6 separate regions of the Homo sapiens genome follow, and regions 1, 2, 3, 5 and 6 are each linked to region 4. The links are contacts of gene promoters, found by promoter capture Hi-C in blood cells and fetal thymus (Javierre and others, 2016). All regions are on one chromosome and are shown on one strand. Each heading gives the region's core, a stretch centred on a gene start or on the middle of the fragment in contact. The rest is flanking DNA. Distances are from core to core; before and after follow the strand shown.

Region 1 (3,543 bases), core at 880-3,379, 160 kb after region 4:
GATAGAGAAGGAGAGGGAGAGGGATGGGAAGAGGCAATACCTGAAGAGATCAGACTAGGAAAGGTTCAAGTTATTGCTGGAGGGAACAAAAGAAAGAGCTAACCAAGACCAAATAAAAAGCTTTACACAGCAGTGAATGACCTAGTAAGATCTTGTCAACAGATTTTCATCAATCTCCTTTTCTTTCAACCTTTCTGCTCCACTTCTCCAGGATGATTTATCCTCCTCCCAGAAGGGTGTAGTCCTTCAATGACAGCTTAGTTTTTGATACATCAAGGATTTTATCATGAACATTGAGACCTATCCAATCACCAGTTCCACAGCTACAGGCCAACCTTCAGAGAAGTCTTCCTGGAATGCTAAGAAAAGGCTAGAGTTTTTTAGATAAAAGTTCCTCTTTTTGGTTTGTTTTTAAAATTGGTGACAATAGGTGCTGTCTTACAGATTAATTCCAAGGTATTGTCCTCCTTTGCCACCTTGGACAGTTCCCACAAAACGTTCTAGGCCTTACTCTCTTTCAAAAATTATGCATTCATCTGAGTGCTCTGTGCAGGAAGAAAGGTGATGTAACAGTTGTCCCATATCTGTAAGAGGTATTGTCAAGGCCAGCTGATACAGGAGGGACCAATATGGACCCTTTAGTCTTCTTAGTTTGTAAAACACCTTAGTTCACATTTGACAGTCATGGGAAGGATTGCCACCACTGATTCTATCTGGGAATAGTGATGTCTGAGATGGAGATATGTTTGGCTCTTCTCTCCTCCTCTGTGCCTAAAATATCATTATGAGCCCAAAATACACAAAATCTTAAACCTAGCACATTTTAGAGACTGTAAGAAGCTAGGTGGACATTTGGTATGTGACATGTTATTAAGTTAAAAAGTCAGTTATTTCCTAGAAATGACACATGAATTTATATTCTCATTGTTTTCTAATGCCTTAGTTTCCAGGTGGTTGAAACCAAGTTCCCCCAGTTATGTCTGATTCATCGGAACCCAGGAATGCACCACCTGGAGATCACCTGCTGCGGTAGTGTGTTTCGTCCTTGCCTCCATCCTGCCCTTTCATCACCATTCCTTGCCTCAGTGTCTAGGTCAACACTCCCTTGTGTTTAGGATTGAACAGCCCCAGAGGCTTGTCCTCCTCATTTATTCTCAAAGAAACCTCATTCATTTCATTCTTTCTCCTCTTTTTATCACCAAAAGGCCTATCCGGGGAGTGAATCCTCTCAGCTGCAAGTCTGGGACGGGACTTCATCCTACTAGAGCCCTAGCTGATTGCTTGATAGTTCTTTGGTTTACACCACAGTTGACATCCATAACAGGAAGTGAGGTTAGGCCTTTTTCTCTGTGGATGTACATACTTAGAGGGAGCCTTTCCAAGGTGTTCACTCCACCCTTCTTTTCTCTTTCTGAGCAAAATCTTTCCCTAGAGTCCCATATCAGATATGATGTAAACCTTGAATTTTACAGTGAAATGTTTGCTTCAAATTTAACCATGATACTGATCTGCTTCAGTGTCTGACTTAAAGATTCATTTGTTACTGGTCAATGCATCTAACATTGAGTTTTACGGAAAACCCCTGATACTTAATGACAGAGGTAAGAATGAGCTGCCTGTTGATTTGCAGTATGAGGTGTTAGAGTGCCAAATATGAGATCTCCAGTAAAAACAATATTAATGCCCAATTATGCATTTCCATGACTGAGATCAGCCATTTCTCAGAGAAGTTTTACTAATCTGGCTACTTTAGCTCTGTTGATACCTGTGATACAAATCATAGTATTTAACATTTTGGTAAATACTGAAATTGTGAATTCGCTCCAAATCCATTCAGGCATGTTTATGAATCATAGAAGCTCTCTAAACAGTATGATTGGATGTGAGCTAATATTTAGGAGATTTACCGACCTATTAAAAGTATGTAAGTATATTGGAGAAGTGGGGAAAAATAGAAACAAGAGAGAAAATGCATTACAATTTGTTCTAACAGAATTTTTGATCTCTTCACTCCAAGTATTGTGAGTGAATGTAAAAATATAATTCAATATCTACAAAATGCTATAATTCATCTGTTGTGTCTCCAAATGCCAGGGTTGTAAACAGATTTCTCACTTGTGCCTTTCTTTGTCATTTGATAGCCATGTTGACTAAAGTGAGTTGCTTCCCTCTGGCAATCATTGCTGATGTTGAATAAACTTGTTCTTAACCTTTGTTATGCTGCTGGGACACACAACACTGGATAATGGCATAAAAGACTAACAGGATGTGGTATAACTTGACGCACTAAATCCTCTGCTAAATCACACTTTTTGTTTTACTCAACTGTCTTCCTCTTTTCATTTGGCATTTCATCTGATTAATCTTACCTCTGTTCATGAAATATAAAGGTCTAGCTAGGTCAACACTAGAAAGATTATAGTTGTTGGTATTGTACTTGCCCTTTACTCTAAATAAGTATTTTAACAGACAAGAAAGCTCTTCCTTATCTAAACATTTGTGGCAGAATAAGCTCAATGTCTTGAGTTTTCTAAATCTCTTTTTTTCTTTTTCTCTCATAATTCCACACTAGCCCACTGCACCTTATCATATATAATAACAACTAATATTTCATGACAACTACTTTGTTCCAAGTGTGTTTTATGAATTATATTTACCTAATCCTCCCAACAGCTATTTTTGCCCATTTTTCTGGATAAGATTATAGAGTTTAAGAGAGGTTGAGTGACTTGGCTGAAGTCACGCAGGAAATTGATGGAGCTGGAATTCAAAACCAGGCCATCTGACAGCAGAGCCCATACAGGTAACCACTGCCTGCTATTCTTCATTGCTTCTCCTAAGGTTGGCTTTGCATGTCCACAGCTTCACCTACCAAGAAGAGGGATGGGAATTTGATCTTTTTCCAATGACAAGCAGACATGTCAGAGAAGCCACTGTGCACTTTCCAGCATCCTGCCACCCATCTGGTTCTCTGTGCCAAGCTCGTCCACCATCTCCTTTCTCTGTATACCATTCAATCATTCCTCAAAACTTTTTTTGAGTTTCTACTAATACCCAGCAATGCTAAAGACACTGAAGATATAGCTATAAGCCAAAGATTTTCTCTTGATGAGTAATTATTTTATTAGAGCTGACAATTGACAAATAAGAAAAAAAAGATTGTGTGTGTGGATGTATATAGGTTTACATATGTATTTTATATAGAGTGATCTGAGAAAGACTCTAACACAATGATATTTGAGCAAAACCCTTAAAGAAGTAAAGGAAAAATTATGCAGCTCTGGAAAAAAAATATTCCAGGCATAGAGAAAAACAGGTTCAAATATTCCAAGGCAGGAGTTTGCTTGGTATATTTAAGTAGCAATGTGGCTGAGCGGTATTAACAAGTAGTCAGGGACTGTAATATTGGAGGGTTGTGCCTTACAGGGTGTGATGAGAACTTTCGGTTTTCTTTAAGTGACATAAAATGCCATTTGGGGGATTTTTAACAAAAGAGTAAAATGATTTTTCTTTCTCTTTGAAAGTTTTTCATATGCTGTGTGA
Region 2 (3,394 bases), core at 704-3,203, 150 kb before region 4:
AAGAATGCACAGTAAACTCTGCATCCCTGGTGGACAAGACAGTTGAGGACATTTCATGTGGAAGAAAAGGAAGGAAAGAGATTGTGAAAAAAAGAGATCATTACAGCAACTCTTGATATTTAATATGTCAAGTCCTCTTTCTTTGTTCTTAGTTCCATTGGGTAATTTTCTATATATATGTTGATATCAATTTGTTTTAATCAGATAATTGACCGAGGAAACATATATATATATATATATATTTTTTTTTTTTCGAGACAGAGTCTTACTCTGTCACCCAGGCTGGAGTGCAGTGGCGCGATCTCAGCTCACTGCAAGCTCCGCCTCCCGGGTTCACGCCATTCTCCTGCCTCAGCCTCCCGAGTAGCTGGAACTACGGGGGCCACCACAACGTCTGGCTAATTTTTTTGTATTTTTAGTAGAGACGGGGTTTCACCATGTTAGCTAGGATGGTCTCCATCTCCTGACCTCGTGATCCACCCGCCTTGGCCTCCCAAAGTAATGGGATTACAGGTGTGAGCCACCACGCCCGGCTGGAAACATAACTTTTAATAACCTCAGAAATAGACTACTGTATGAACACTTGATATGAAAGAGGTAGCATCATATAACGTGGAAAAAGGTGCTGGGACAATTGAGTACCTGTATGGGAAAAAATCAAACTGGACCCTGTATTGTATGCCGTGGTGCCCTTCCCAGTTCTCCCCTTCAGAGTGATGACACTAATTGTTCCAGCTGCAATATTGCTGGTTGACAGGTCGCAGCTGAATCACTCCTCAGGAATTGCCCTTGGCCTAAAGGAGCTGCCTTGCTGAAGGCTGTGGTCCCTCCCTGAAGGCAGCTCACATCGAGACTAGCTGATGTGGGGATACAAATTCTATCAATTTGAGACAAGCTGAAAGCTATTATGGGACCTGCCAAGGCCTCCACTGCATATGCTTCACCATTCGTTTCTCCTCTGCCCAAATCTGCCTTCCTCACCTTTTTTCAGGTACAGTTCCCATGCTCATGGTCCAATAAACCACATGTTTACAAATCACCATCTCAGAGATCTTCCCAGGGAGGTCTACCTAAGACCCCTAACTTACACCATACCCCACAATCAGCTCCAGGTAAATTAAAACTAAAGTACAGAAAGATGGAAATAATTTGCACAAGGTTATACATCTGAACGAGAAAAGAGCTGAGATTTAAACCTGAGAAGTCTGGCTCTAGAGTCTCTGCTCTTAATCCCTAATGGCAAATAAAATAAACCACTTATGGCTGCATGGAATGTCATGGATGAATTACACAAACACATTGTGGAGCAAATGAAGCAAGGCACAAAAAAATACAAAAAGTATGATTTCACTTACGTGAAGCACAAAAGCAGGCAACATAAGTTGGATTGTTTAGAAATGCATACACAGATAGTAAAGATATAAAGAAAGGCAAAGGAATGACTATGGAAAAAATCAGGAGGTGATTACTCAAAGGGAACAGGAAGAGGTGAAATAGGGGAGAGGGTTCTGAGAATGTTGGTAATGTGTTATTTCTTCATCTGAATGGTGGTTACACATATGAACATTTACCATTTATTTGTGTTTAACATTTATAATAATGGTTTTAAACTATAGGTATGTGTTCTTTTCTTTCTTTCTTTTTCTTTTTTTTTTTTTTTGAGATGGAGTCTTGCTCTTGTTGCCCAGGCTAGAGTGTAATGGAGAGGTCTCTGCTTACTGCAACCTCCACCTCCCGAGTTCAAGCGATTCTCCTGCCTCAGCCTCCCAAGTAGCTGGGATTTACAGGCATGTGCCACCATGTCCGGTTAATTTTTGTATTGTTAATAGAGATGGGGTTTCACCATGTTGGCCAGGCTGGTCTTGAACTCCTGACCTCAGATGATCCACCTGCCTCGGCCTCCCAAAGTGCTGGGATTACAGGTGTGAGCCATTGCACCCAGCCAGATATGTGTTCTTTTCACTTTTTTTTGTGAATGTGACATATCTTACAATTAAAAAATTGGAATAGAGAAATCCATGGTGAGAGGTGAGATGACTGCAGTAGAGAACCCTGTGAAAGATATGCTAAGGGTCAGGGTCACAGGGCTCTGTGTATAAGTGTTAGAGAGGGTTTTACTTCTTTTCTCTTCAGCCTTCACCATAAAATTTTGCAGAAGCCTTCACAAGTTGTCTGGTTATGAGCAAGCAACTCTGAAGTCCTGGTGATCCAGAGAGGTGTTGCTTCTGATCTCTTTTCACTATGGAGCCACAGAGAGCTGAACTTCCCATCTCCCAGGGGAGCTTTGAGGCCCATGTTTTAATTTGCCTGCCTAGCTTTCTCTCCTGCATGGCGTTAGGCATCTCGGAGGCAACATTCTAAAACAAAACTCATCAGTAGCAGGATGAGCCTTGAAAATTCTTTCTTTTTCTTCCTGAGATTGAGTTCATATAGCATGAAATCATAAGGAAAACAAACATCCTTGTAACATAATCACACATGAGATGGCCACAAGATCTGAGTAGTATGAAAGGTCTGATTACCTTGCAGGTACTACTTCCCTCCAGGACAGCTCCCTCTCATCCTTTGCTCCTATGTCATTTGGCAGGCAAAGAGTTGGGGATAAAGGGCTAATACTGAGGTTAAAAGGAGGGAACCACTGGAAGTCCTGAGCAAAGGGGGTTTGGGGTAGAAGAAAAGAGTAGGATGAGGGGTATGAGGGTCCTTAACCAACTTTAGGGAGTTGACCAACTGAGTGAACTGAAAGTCAACAACTGTGATATTGCAACAGTATGAGAAATGTGTGCCCAAGGCAGTGACTAGGGTTCAGACACCACCCTGGACTCCCAAGTCATTCCTACCTTATATTTTTGTAATTCTTTCCAGATATTTGTCAAACTAAGATTTAGGCCATGTAGGACAAGGATTGATCTGTTCCCTGTCATCCTCAATGGGAACACAGTTCTGGAGGCTCCACATACATTCAGTTTACCGACTCTACAAGCACATGTTAAGCATCAAGTATCTGAATAGGGCTCTGAAAGCCACAGATAGCACAATTCTTTCTATCAAGGAGCTCACAGTGTGGCTGAGGAGGCAACAGGCTATCTGACAAGGAGAGTGCCAAGCCCTTCTCAGGATGTGGGATAGGTCTCAGGGATAGCCCCTGTCTTAAAGAGTATACCTATGAGTTAAAATACATAATCATGAAAGAGAAAACTGAGATGAAGGAGTGTTAGACTTGAAGTAAGAGTTTTGGAAAAAAATTCTAGGAGAAATAGTTGAAGAGCTGAGTTTTGAAAACGAGTAGTTATTATTGTTACATTGAATTTAATTATCTTTCTGAAAAAAAGTTTTCTTTAAATTTATATTTTTTTCTTCTCACAGCTTTTATAGTGTCGTGCTTTGAATCCAG
Region 3 (3,169 bases), core at 573-3,072, 180 kb after region 4:
GGTTCAATGTATGTGTAGAAAATGAGGAATGGTGGATATTAAATTCAAAAGACATTTACTAGATGCATACAACACAAAAGGGATTGTGGTGAGTTTTGTAAAAGATAGTGGATAAAGCCAAAACTTAAACATGAAATTCTTCTTTGATTCTTAACTTGCACACTTCCTTCTGCAACATTGCTAGTCTTCTAATTCTGCAGTAAAGACATACTGATGATTTCAACAAACTATAATTATTTAACTTTATTGGAAATAACACCAAACACCATCTAATATATAGATGTGAACATCATTCCAAAACTTTTAAAAATTAGCTTTTAGTATAAGCTTTATATTTGCCTTTTCTTGAGATTGTTGTTTAAACTTTTGTGGAAGGTATTGAGTAATTAAATTACATTATGCTCATATCATGTAATCCAAGAAATATAGGAATGCCAAAATTACAAAAGAATATGTCAGAAAAAATACAGGAAATAAGCAAACATCTCTATGGAAACATTTTTATCATACTAGATGATTATATTGGTCATCATGATGACTCTGGTATTATGGAAGCACAATGTAGGAAGTTGAGATGAGTTATAAACCACAGCAAACATATCACACACAGTGTATGAATACATAGTTCAACTAAGACAGTTACAAATCATCCTAAAAAACTTTGATGATCAGAAAAGGTCTTCTGTAATGTTTTAACATTTTGAAATGTATTGATACATTTTTTATGACTCATCTATGTTCTCTTTGGAAAGACAAATGTGATTTATGCAATTGCTGGGTAAATTGCCAATATATGTCAGTCAAACCAAGTTGGTTGCTTATGTTGCTTAACACTTCTATACTGCTACTAAATTTGTGCTGCTTTACATATTAAGTGTTGAAAGAGTTTGTTAGAATCTGTAACTATGATTATATATCTGTCTATTGCTCTTTTTTGATCTCTTCATTTTGCTTTATGTGTGTGTGTGAATTTTTTTTTTCTTTAGAGACAAGGCCTTGCTCTGTCACCCAGGCTGCAGTGCGGTGGCATGATCATAGCTCACTGCAGCTTCAGACTCATGGGCTCAGTTGATTCTCCCACCTCAGCCTCACAAATAGTTTATATAATTTGATAATGTGTTTCTAAGTTCATAAAAGCTTAGGAATGTTTTGTCTCTTGTTTAGTTAACCCCTTTTTATTTTTAACAGTCTTTTTTATCTCCAAGACTATTTCTTTCCTTAAGGCATAATATATTAATTAGGCCTTCATTAGTATATCAATTTTTAATAAATATAATTTATATGAATAGCATATTAATAGTTAAGTAATAAATATATTAATATATCCAGGTCAGGTTTCAATATAGTAATATATCCATGTCAGCCCATTTGTATGTGATATAACACTATTAATTCTTTTAATTTCAAGCAACCTGGTGCCCAATTTGTTTTTACTTTTATTGTATTTTTATAATTGACACATAATTACTGTGCATATTGATGGGGTACATAGTAATGTTTCTATATATAATGTATAGTGAAGAGATCAGGGTAATTAGCATATCCGTCATTTCAAATATTTATCATTTATTTGTGTGGGAACATTTGATATCCTTCTAGCTGTTTGAAACTATTACTTTTAACTATAGGCATCCTACAGTGGTATAAAACACTAGAATTTGTTCCTCCTATCTAGATATAATTTAAAGTGTGTCTCTTTTAAGAAGCATAAACATGTCATATTTATGTAGTCTGATAATCTTTGACTTTTAATTGGAGTGTTTATTCTGCTTAAATTTACTATAATTCTTAATATAGTTGTATCTAAGTCTACTATCTGCTATTATATTTGTCCTATCTTTTGAAAAATAAACTTTTAAATTTGGAATAATTTTAGACTCACAAAAAATTTGTGTGGGCACAGAGAGTTTCTATATCTGACCTTTAGCTCAGTGTCCCGTAATGTTGACATCTTACATACTTGTAGTATATTTGACAAAACTAAGAAATTAACATTGGTACATTGCTGTTAACTAAACTCTTGTCTTTATTCAGATTTCATCAATTTTCCAATAATGTCCTTTTTTCTATTCCAGGATCCAATTCAACATACCACATTGTATTTAGTCCCCATATCACTTTTGTCTCCTTTAATCTGTGACAATTTATTGATTTTGTCTTGTTTTTCATGACCTTGACAGGTTGAAGAGTACTTATGAGGAGTTTTGTAAAACGTCCATCAGTTTTACCACCATAAAAATCAGTTCAGATTTTTATGATGTCCTTGTTGTGATTATACAAAGGTTATGCATTTTCTGGAAGAATATAAATGGAGTGGAAGTGTCCTTCCATCACATTATATGAGGGGGTGCGTAATATTCACATGCCATAATTGGTGACAGTAACCTTGATCACTTGGTTAAGATTGTCTGCCAAATTTCTCCACTGTAATTTTTTTTTCCTTTTTCTTAGTCTTTTCTTTGGAAGCCAGTCACTAAGTCTAGCTACACGCACCTGGAGAGGGGAATTAAGCTTCACCTTCGGGAAGGAGGAGACTATACTCATATTATCAGCAATTCTTCTGTAAAGATGTGTCTCTTCTGCCTTTGATCCATGTGTTGGTTTATTCCTCCATTTCTGTCTTCTTTTGTATTAGTCGGGTATTTTCTATTACACTATTTTATGTCCTTTTTAGATTAAGTCCAAAATTTTGCATTTTCCTTTTAGTTGTTGCCCTACAAATTACAACATTTGTTCTTGCTACAATTTTTTTCTTAATACTTTCTCTAACAATTGAAGAGATATGTTATAGTCTAAACCCACTTATCTCCCAACCTGTCTTTTGTGCTATTTTTGTCATATATTTTACATTACAGTATCTCAATAGGTCATTTTTTTTAATATCACAATTCTTTTTAGTTCTAAGGCAGAATCAACTTTTCTACCTTTTGCTCCCAACCTTGTTAAACGGGAAAGAATTGCATAAGTATTTGAGAAACCGTTTACCAAAAGCATCTAGCAGATCTAGCAGACGCCCATGTTAAAATATCAATAACATTCAAAAATTTGTAAAGAACTAGTTTTGAATAACAAATTGGTCAATGTGAAAAACAGCTAAATGTTATACAAAATTAGAATTATCAAAGTGGTTGGGGGGTAGTATGTACTTTCTAAAAGCATCGGATAGTCC
Region 4 (3,339 bases), core at 421-2,920:
CTATTGAAGAGATCACTATCTTGTGGGAGAGGCAGACAAGTGGACAAATAATTTTGACCATATGTGACACGTGTCAATATAGATGTATGTTCCAATTATATGCTCTAATTGCTCCAATTGAATAGACATAGGAACACGTCAAAGCCTCATCATCATCATTTTCAACACATTATCTTCACTACTGTAGCTACTTTGCACTGAGTCCCTACCAGTACATTGAAATAGTGATAAACGTTATGATATCTAATGTCACAGTGTTTTCCATTTAAGAAACAAAACAATTTTAAACACTTTTAAATACACAGATACACATACACACACATATATATATATATATCTACAATATATGTGTGTGTATGTTTGTGTATTCTGTGAGAAATACGAAGAACAGAGTTCTGCAAGATAGAACAACAAGGGAACACAATTATATATAGCTGTCAGGGAAGGCACACCTGAGGAAGTGATATTTAAGCTGACACCAGAAATATGAATAGGTCTTAGCCAGCTGAATAGGCAGGTGTAGGGAGAGTAGGAGAAAGAATTGCATATTCCTACAAAAATGCAGGTTTGCTGAGCATTAGAATATCAGCTAGTTCCATCCAGTGGGTCCCTGACACCCTTCACCACTGTTAGTCAGAGTGACAGGGAACCTTGGGCTTTGGGTTGAGGGTGTACCTTGCCCTGATCAAGAGCCAAAGTCATTCTTTTTTAGAGAAGAGAAAACGGTCGATATGGATCTCTTCCCCTTTCCCGTGTGGGATTCTGTTGCATCCCCTTCACTGTCACCTCCCATCATTCTCACACCCAACTCCCAGATGCCCTGAATCCTCCCACAGAGAGCATCACTGCTCCCTGCCAACAGTGCAGCCCATCTCACCCTGTCACTGGCAGTGACTGAGGACACAGCAGGCTCTGGAAGACATGGCCTGGCAAACTCTCCTTGTCCTCTCTTCTGGACTATTATTCAGGATTGAAACAATGAAGAAACATCCAGGAGCTAAGTTTTTATAAAAATAATGCATTCAAATATTACTTCTGCAATTTTTCTAAGAGTAACGGGAAATAGATCTTGCATCCTACAGTATACTGGGTGATTGTTGGTGGAGCCTGGTAAATCTCATCCAGAGACTAGGGAAGTTTTCCACATTCAGGTGAAATTCAGAAGAGTCATCACCTAGAGACCAAATTAAACTTATTAGTATTAGAAAACAATTGCAAATAGCACACTCTTCAAACACACAGCCATCAAACTCAATGGTAATCAAGACTGAAGTTAGGAGCATATGGGCAGTTCTTGAGTTGAGAAGGAAACAAGAACTGTCTGGGTCCTGAAGCCACCTGCTGTGTAAGTTGCTTGGTGACTACAGAGAACTCTACTATGATACAACACAGAAAATATTTCTCTTCTAAGATGCAAGTAGTGTTTCTAACTCCACAAATGTAAGTGTATATAAACTGAGGTTGGAGGTATGCATCTTTGTACCACCTCCTAGCCAAGGCAGCTGCCCCCAGCCTTTTGTTTTGTAATCTTGGCTGGCCAGAGTCTGAGTCTTCATAGCAGTGTCTTAGCTCCTGCACCACAGTTCCTCGCTGTCCACCCCAGGCTTCCGGACTGGAAGGACAGTGGGACAGTGACGGGGGATAAAAGAAGCCTGGTGAGGCCAGGAGTCACTGCCTGCAGAACCCCAGCCCGACTTTCCCTGCGCACTGGGATCCTGCTGGAACCTCAGCTGCAACATGAGCTCCGCAGCCAGGTCCCGCCTCACCCGCGCCACCCGCCAGGAGATGCTGTTCTTGGCGTTGCTGCTCCTGCCAGTTGTGGTCGCCTTCGCCAGAGGTGAGAGCAGAAACCAGGCTGGGAGGGCCAGCAGCGGCGAGGGGGAGTCCGGGAAGCCCTGGGGCTGGGGAGGAATCCTCTAGGATCATGATCGCAGCTGCTCTTATTGCGCGCGTGCTGAGTCTGCGGGTACAGTGCCAGGCACTGCACGTGCACCTCGCCACCTGATCAGCACAACCTCTGTCTGAGAGAGGTCTGATTTACGGCTAAGGAAAAGAAAGCTGAAGGTAGTGGAAAAGGTCCCTAAAGTATCTCTGGCTACTCAGGGAGTCACAACTCCCACCCCTCCTCCTCTCTTACTCCCTCCCTTTCCCCCTCAGCTGAAGCTGAAGAAGATGGGGACCTGCAGTGCCTGTGTGTGAAGACCACCTCCCAGGTCCGTCCCAGGCACATCACCAGCCTGGAGGTGATCAAGGCCGGACCCCACTGCCCCACTGCCCAACTCATGTGAGTCCTCGCACTGCATCAGTTAGTGCTCCCGCTCCGTGCCTCCTCTGCCCATCCCTCCCCCTTCTAATGCCATTTGCAAACCCAAGGACTGAAAGTCACGTCTCTTCTCTTTTCCCTGCCAGAGCCACGCTGAAGAATGGGAGGAAAATTTGCTTGGATCTGCAAGCCCTGCTGTACAAGAAAATCATTAAGGAACATTTGGAGAGTTAGCTACTAGCTGCCTAAGTGTGCACTTTCAATCTAACTGTGAAAGAATCTTCTGATGTTTGTATTATCCTTCTTATATTATATTAACGAAATAAATCAAGTTGTGGTATAGTCAATCTATTTCTTAATAATACTGCAAAAATAATGCTGACACATCACAATTTCATATTTTAAAATTTCCAGAATTTTAAGCAAAAAGCATTATGAAGGAAGGCTTGGTTTAATAAAGACTGATTTTGTTCAGTGTTATATGTTAGCTGATACATATTTGTTCATTTATGTGATTGCAGTACTTTATAGCTACATATTTACCTTGAATGTTACAATTAGCTTGCCAATAAATATTAGTAGCTCTTAAGCATTACTCGACAGCTTTTTTTTTTTTCAATGAAGTAAATAAGCAACACTCTGCTTTTATCCCCACAAATTCCTTAACATTGGTGATATTAAGATTCTGGGAACTAAGAGAAGTGTGAGGTAATATTTTCATTCATCCTTTAGGAAGACATTGCTCTACACTGGGGAGAAATGAAGGTGTTATAATGTGGGCATATTAGTTTCCTGTTGCTTCTGTAAGAAATTACCACAAACTCAGTGGCTTAACCAACACAAATTTATCGTCTTGTAATTCTAGGGGTCTCAAGTCCAAAGTAAGTCTTAAAGGTTAAACTCAAGCTGTCCTCAGAGCTGTATTCCTTCTGAAGGCTCTAGAAGAGAATCTACTTCCTCTCCTTTTTCACCAGCATTCCTTGCCTCATAGCCCTTTCTCCAGTCTTCAACCTGCATCACACCAACCTCTACTTCTCCTCTGTCTCTGCTGACTCTTCTACCTTTTATATCCGGCT
Region 5 (3,287 bases), core at 439-2,938, 220 kb after region 4:
TATATTACTGCTCTCCAAACTATATATATGTAATCGTCTTCTCTTTTGTATTTGTGGCAGGCAGAATCCTAAAACAAGCCCATCAAGCTTCCCACCCACTTCCCTAGGAGTGTGAATATGATGAGATATTACAAACATCATTACGTTATCTTACACAGCAAAAAGATTTTGCAGATGTAATTAAGGTTATTAATGAGTAGACTAAATAAATCAAGAGTGATTATTCAAGTGAGCCTAATGTAATAACTTGAACCCTAAAAGCAGAGAGTTTTCTCTGGCAGGTAGCAGAAGAGGAAGTAAGAGAGATTTGAAGGGTGAGCTCAGCTCAATGCAAGGCAGGTTGTTCATTGCTTATATGGAAGGAGCCACATGGAAGGAAGTGAGAGCAGCCTCTGGGAGTGCTGAGTGACCCCAAGCCAACAGCCAGGAAGAATATCAGGACCCCAGTCCTATGCTGTAAAGAACTGAATTCTACCAACAATCTGAATTGGGAGTGGATTCATCCCTAGAGCCTTCAAATGAGAGCTTGGCCCTACTGACACCTCGATTTTAGCTTTATGAAATGCCAAGCAGAGAACCTGGTCAAGTCACCTAGACAGCTAATCTACAAAACTGTGAAATATTACATGGGTTAATTTTAAACCACTACGTTGTGGTAATTTGTTACCTAGCAATGAACAATTGAAACAGTCTGTATTACATAGTTTACAGTAAAAATAGTTTAATGAAATGCAGAATTGTTTCCTGTAGTCTCTAAGCTCTATACTTGTAGGCTTATGCCTCAGTAAATTTGTCTCCAGGGCCATCAGGCCATATTGAATTTATTGAATTATCCATGTATTCTTACTGATGAATGTGTATCTTTTCTTATTGTACATGTTCACTTACTACAAGGTTAACTCCATTCAGAAGAATTCACCCCCTATGTTTCCATTTGAAAGCCCCCCTCCACCTTTTTTTTTTTTTTTTTTTTTTTTTTTTTTTTTTTTTGGAGAGAGTGCAGGATGTTTTCAGGAATGGAAGCAAAAATACTGGGCAATTATTTTCCCACATTGTGCAGGAATCATATCTAGAGGCTAGGTTTCCTACACTCTCAGCTTGGCATTCTTTGTAAAGAAATGCCAGCTTTGAAAATCACAGTCCTAGAGGCTTCCACACTCCCCGACATCTTCGCTACTTACAGGATTTATTTTCTGCTGTACAAAGCACCTTCAGGTATCAACTGAACATTTTTAATAAATTGGGAAGAAATAAAGTCAGAATATATCTGAATACACTCACATCACAATTCTTGACTCTCAGAGGAATCAGTTGTGTGAGAAAGGAATAGAAAAGCCCTGAGTGAGAACAAAGGTAGCCATAACACTTACTTGAAATTTGAAATCAATGTAGCAGGACACTCAACTGGATTTACAAATTCAGAAATATTGAGGGAGAAGGTTACACAAACCTAATTATATGCTATTATCCTGATCAACAAATACTTACTGAGCATCTGTTATATTTGAAAAACTGGTAGATATACTAAACCAATAATTAATTGCTTAAAAGTATTAATATGCACGGTCAATAACTTTCTTAATGGCAAAAATTAACTTGATCCTTTCTATGAAAAGTTGTAAAAATAAAGATTATATGTAAATTTTATCAATTGAATGTAGCAATTTCTATCTGCCTACCATCATTAAAGCAAACACCCTAAACCTACTTTCAGTAATCTTCCTACTATCGCCTATAACAAGAAAAGCACAACTCTTGCAGCCAGATATTTATTTTCTTTTTCTTTTATTTATTTATTTATTTTTTTTGAGACAGAGTTTCCCTCTTGTTGCCCAGTCTGGAGTGCAATGACGAGATGTAGGCTCACTGCATCCTCCGCCTCCTAGGTTCAAGCGATTCTCCTGCCTCAGCCTCCGGAGTAGCTGGGATTACAGGCATGCGCAACCATGCCTGACTAATTTTTGTATTTTTAGTAGAGATGGGGTTTCACCATGTTGGTCAGGCTGCTCTCAAACTCCTAACCTCAGGTGATCCACCCGCCTCGGCCTCCCAAATTGCTGGGATTACAAGCGTGAGCCACCGCGCCCGGCCGCGCAGCCAGATATTTCTAGGAAGGTAAACATCTTTTTTTTTTTTTTTTTAGACGGAGTTTTTCTCTTGTTGCCCAAGCTGGAGTGCAATGGCACGATCTCAGCTCACCGTAACTTGCGCCTCCCGCGTTCAAGCGATTCTCCTGCCTCAGCCACCCCAGTAGCTGGGATTACAGGCGTGCGCCACAACGCCCAACTAATTTTGTGTATTTTTAGTAGAAACGGGGTTTCACCATGTTAGCCAGGTTGGTCTCGAAATCCTGACCTCAGGTGATCCACCCACCTCGGCTTCCCAAAGTGCTGGGATTGCAGGCGTGAGCCACCGCGCCTGGCCGTAAACATGTTTTTATTTGACTCAACAATAAATTTTTGACACTCCACAATCTAAATACCATACAGATCTGCTTACCTTTTAATTTCACAGTTTCTATATTTTGCTTAATGTTAAATATAATCTCATTACATCTGGAACCCTTTCTGAGTTTTTCCAGTCCCTAGAAGGAAAAGATAAAAGCCATAGTTGGCTTACCAAACATGCAGAGGACAAGGACAGTCAGAAGGAGGAGTGCTGGTGAGTTCTGAGTACCCATGTCTGTCCTTAATCTTGATCCTGTTCTGGATGGTGGAATCAATACTGCAGCCCACTTGCATGTGCTCTCTGTAACCCAGAGAATGTTTTATTGCTCTCCTTGTATTCTCTGTCCCCTCTAAAGAATAAAAGGTGAAGTTTATCAAGTGGTATACTTTTTGCTCACAAGCCAATAAAGAAGCTGAGTTTGTTTTTCAAACTTTGTTTTAATTGGGGCTTTTGGGGCACAATGAGATGAACTTGTTAAATAGAGAAATGAATCTATTATTTCCTGCCATGAAACTGCGAAACTGTGAAAGAGTCAATCTTAGTTGCAGTTAATGGTGACTTACAGAATGGAGTCTTGAGAATGTCTATGCATCTTTACCAAGGACATGTTCATACAAAATAGGGAATTAAGATGCTTTTCCTCAGCAATTATTTGCTTTTGAATTTTGTACCTATTTGCGTAATTCCATTTAAAGTCTTAATAGAATTTTTCAAACTAAGTCTACATGCACAGCCTAGATATACTGCAGAAAAAATTGAGTTCAGAGTATAACTTTTTTCCTGTCAAGACTTGCAAACTACAATTTACTTATTGTTTGAAGATAGCAGTTTCCATGGGC
Region 6 (3,296 bases), core at 390-2,889, 200 kb after region 4:
GGGTTAAGAAATGAATGGAAATTTTGTTGATTAAAAAAAGAATTAGTAGTCTAGTAAAGGTTAAGTTCTACATTGTACTTACTTACAAGGTCAATACTAATGCTAGAATTGTAACCATGTAGATGTTAACTAAATGCTAATATATACAAACATGTCAGGGTAAAACATTTAACCTCAAGAATTTTTTTTCCTTTCTTTCTTTCTTGTTTCAAAAAATATCACAGGTTTTTTAATGGGATACATTAATTCATTTCCATCATCTATTTTTTATTCTACCAGGGGTAAATATATACACTTTAAAGTAAAAAAGCAGAGTTCACAAGACTTACATTCTACAACTTTATTATTTTTAGGGTTTGAAGGCTAAAACAAACATCAGAAGAAACTTTCAGAAGATGTTTTAAGCAAGACATAATAGCACTAAGACACTAAAAGACCCTATTAAGTTCCTGAACATACTAACAAAAATTTATTGAGCAAGTATTTTGCGCTGGGCTCTGTGTGATTCCTAATATCATTAACCATTATTAAATCTGTTTATTATCATCAGCATGTCTAGTCTTACAGTAGAGTGGGGTTGGAAAAATCAACAAAGATGTGTTTCAATAGAAATTTTCAAATAAATAAAGGGAAAGTGCACTACAATGTTTAGCCAAGGATTGGGGGTAAAACATATATTATATATTGAAGCATGGCTTGCTTATTTTCACCTTCTTTCTGTTATCTTTTATCCAGCATTCTCAGAATAAAATGAGATTTTTGAAACAGAATAGAACTTAGATCAAAATTTTAATACAGTAAGAATAAGTATCCTGGATAAATAAGAATCTGAGAAAGTCAAGACTTCAAAATCCTCCCCTTCCAGTGAAAAGCGTTAGCAGAAAGTTAACAAATTAACCAGATGAATTCATCAACTTTCAACATTTTCTGTACAATTTTATTGATTCTGGGAGCATCTGGGTCCAGGCAGATTTTTTCTCCCATCTTACAGAGTGGCTCTGCAAGAGAGAATAGAATTATCTGTGGGTGTCCTGGCCTGAATATCAGAAAGGATCTGTGAGACTGGAGGAAATGAATGCAGATGGGGATGGAGGTAGAGGGCTTCCCTGATGAGGCGATAGCACAGAAGCAGTGGCTTACATTACTTCGTCTTTGCTGCAATGGGGTCCTGCTGAGACCAACTCCAAATTGTGGATGTTTCTGGGATGAAGTACAAAGGTTGACTTCACATACACGCAGCGCAGTTCAGTGTACAAGTCACTGTCTACACTTACAGCTGGGGTAAAAAGTGATCTATTAGTGGTCGTGAATATTTTTCTCAGTTCTCTCAATTGTAAATTGAAGGTAATTGTACCTCTCTCATAAAGCCATTGTGAATATGATCTGTAAAGCTTTAGTAAAGTGCCCAGCAGAATGCCCAGCAAATGTGAAGTGCCCCCTCTCTGTGACCCCTCCACTTGGATTTGTTGTTATAATGGCACTCTCCAGCCCCAGGAGCACCAAGCCAGTCTTTCTCCCAGATACAGGTATAGCAGAAGCAGCAACAGGTGCAAGGAACAGATCTCTACATTTCCTTTTCCCTATGTTTCTCTTAGTTTGTCCATTGGTGGAGGAACCCAGAACAGTCAACAGCAGCACCTGCAGGGCACAAAGTGATCTGGCACAGCTGCAGGGTGGCATTGAGTCTGAGGCTTATGGTGCAGAAGCCGAAGTTAAAGATGTTTCTAGAGCCTGAAGACTTCCTCTTGAGGGTGAGTTGCTGCCTACAAGTCTGCAGTTAAGTGGCTTTTCATACCCCTTGATGTCATTTATATGCTCTCCCTTGAAGTCAGTAAGGAGAAAGAGGTAGGGAAGGGGGAAGTGAGGGTATGTGGTGATACACACACACAAGCTTGTCAAGCTGTGCCCAACACAGGTCAAAATTCCTACTAAGTTGCATGTTATGCATCACTTCACATTCCCACTCTCCCTTTCTCAATACCTATCTCCCTTACACATGTGTAAGGACTCTACTTAGGAAGGTAAGAACTAGACTGAAACACTACATATATTTTCTTTGTATGAGCCTGTAACAATATGTGCTGTCTTTCCTACAACACAGTTTATAGGCTTTGTTTATAGGCTCCTATAGACACTTTAGGGGCACCTGAAACCACAAATATATGGCCCTGCGCCAAAGACAGCAGATGTTCTTTGGGACCGTATGGATAAAATAAGAGCCAATTATCATCAGAGGCTTACTTTGGATTTTAGCTTACTGAATTCTTTCTGCCTTAGAAATAAATTTTATAATTTTATCAAGAAACTACAAACAAAACTCATTCTCTCTTTTGTTTTTTTTTTTTTTTTTAGTTTTCAAGCCAATTTTTCTTATTGTTGAACAATTATTCACTATGCCTACTGAAGTTATTTGGAACTGTTTTTAAGTGTGATAACCTACAGGTCACATTTTACAGTTTACATTATAAGTAAGCAGACTTCCAAATTAACCCACCTTGGAAAGGTTTGGTGACTTGATGTTGACATTCTATCTCTGAGTAAAGCATTTTATTATGAGTTCCTCAGATTGTTGACGTACTGATTAATGTAGAACCTGATGACACTGAATAGGACCATGATTTATTTCTAAGTTACACTGAAACAAGAAGTTTTCTGATTGTTTTGCACGTAGACATTTAGCCTGTATGTAGTAATCTAATGATTGTAACTCCTTTATTTTATCCTCCGATGAAAAAGAGGACAACTCTGGTATGAGGAGCCTTCCTCTCTTCTTCTAAACTTTCCCATAAAGCCCTTTTAGCTTATGAAAGACTCTAGAACACCCCCAACTTTGTTGATGTGTCTTTCCAGGTCTGTCTTCCCATTTGGCTTTCAATAAACTTTTCTAAAATTATTTATGCCTCCACAGAAATAATTTCAGTAGATAAATGTATTTCTTATTTTTTCCACCCTACTTAATTTTTTCTTATAAATTAGAGTTTAGCAGTAGAAAATATTGAACTAAAATAATTTTTCTTCCCATCTCAACACAGAACTGTCTAGTCTTAAGCAAGCTTAAAAGAAGGGCACAAGCTGAGAGTTTGGCTTCTTCTGAGAGCTGAGATATGGAGTCAATAGCAAAGAGAAGCTCAGCAGGACACAGAATGAGGAGAACAGGCTTCTTTCTAGCTCCTCCTGCAGGATGACTTTACAACCTTTTCTTGTTATTGAGATTGAGATATTGTGAATTCTCAAGTCAGATACATTTTCATTCAATCATAAAATCAAAGCTATCTCCAGAGCAAGATATAAAGGTC

The links. Contacts are between HindIII fragments. The CHiCAGO score rates a contact against its expected background, and 5 or more counts as called.
Region 1: a contact is called between a fragment that was not itself captured here and the fragment with the promoter of PF4V1 in region 4, in 4 of 17 cell types (neutrophils, M1 macrophages, M0 macrophages and 1 more). The highest score is 12.6, in neutrophils.
Region 2: a contact is called between a fragment that was not itself captured here and the fragment with the promoter of PF4V1 in region 4, in 2 of 17 cell types (neutrophils and monocytes). The highest score is 17.7, in neutrophils.
Region 3: a contact is called between a fragment that was not itself captured here and the fragment with the promoter of PF4V1 in region 4, in 3 of 17 cell types (neutrophils, megakaryocytes and M1 macrophages). The highest score is 12.1, in neutrophils.
Region 5: a contact is called between a fragment that was not itself captured here and the fragment with the promoter of PF4V1 in region 4, in 4 of 17 cell types (neutrophils, M1 macrophages, monocytes and 1 more). The highest score is 14.0, in neutrophils.
Region 6: a fragment that was not itself captured here is called in contact with the fragment with the promoter of PF4V1 in region 4 in 3 of 17 cell types (neutrophils, megakaryocytes and monocytes); the score reaches 7.9 in neutrophils.

The regions. Positions count from the first base shown.
Region 1 is chr4:74,014,005-74,017,547 of GRCh38, forward strand. No RefSeq gene overlaps it. Among named protein-coding and RNA genes, the nearest start is that of CXCL5, 17 kb to the left of the region's middle. The HindIII fragment of the contact is 4,022 bases long and covers 119-3,543 here.
Region 2 is chr4:73,700,530-73,703,923 of GRCh38, forward strand. It overlaps INKILN (inflammatory MKL1 (MRTFA) interacting lncRNA), which reads right to left. Exons shown (of 3, transcript NR_185098.1): 3 at 1-26. Among named protein-coding and RNA genes, the nearest start is that of UMLILO, 8.1 kb to the right of the region's middle. The HindIII fragment of the contact is 8,798 bases long and covers 1-3,394 here.
Region 3 is chr4:74,033,276-74,036,444 of GRCh38, forward strand. No RefSeq gene overlaps it. Among named protein-coding and RNA genes, the nearest start is that of CXCL3, 3.8 kb to the right of the region's middle. The HindIII fragment of the contact is 1,374 bases long and covers 1,136-2,509 here.
Region 4 is chr4:73,851,626-73,854,964 of GRCh38, forward strand. PF4V1 (platelet factor 4 variant 1) reads left to right here and starts at 1,671. Exons shown (of 3, transcript NM_002620.4): 1 at 1,671-1,837; 2 at 2,158-2,284; 3 at 2,410-2,858. The coding sequence starts at 1,738. The coding sequence ends at 2,497. The HindIII fragment of the contact is 5,836 bases long and covers 1-3,339 here.
Region 5 is chr4:74,073,876-74,077,162 of GRCh38, forward strand. No RefSeq gene overlaps it. Among named protein-coding and RNA genes, the nearest start is that of CXCL2, 24 kb to the right of the region's middle. The HindIII fragment of the contact is 3,206 bases long and covers 86-3,287 here.
Region 6 is chr4:74,053,135-74,056,430 of GRCh38, forward strand. It overlaps the pseudogene PPBPP2. Among named protein-coding and RNA genes, the nearest start is that of CXCL3, 16 kb to the left of the region's middle. The HindIII fragment of the contact is 500 bases long and covers 1,390-1,889 here.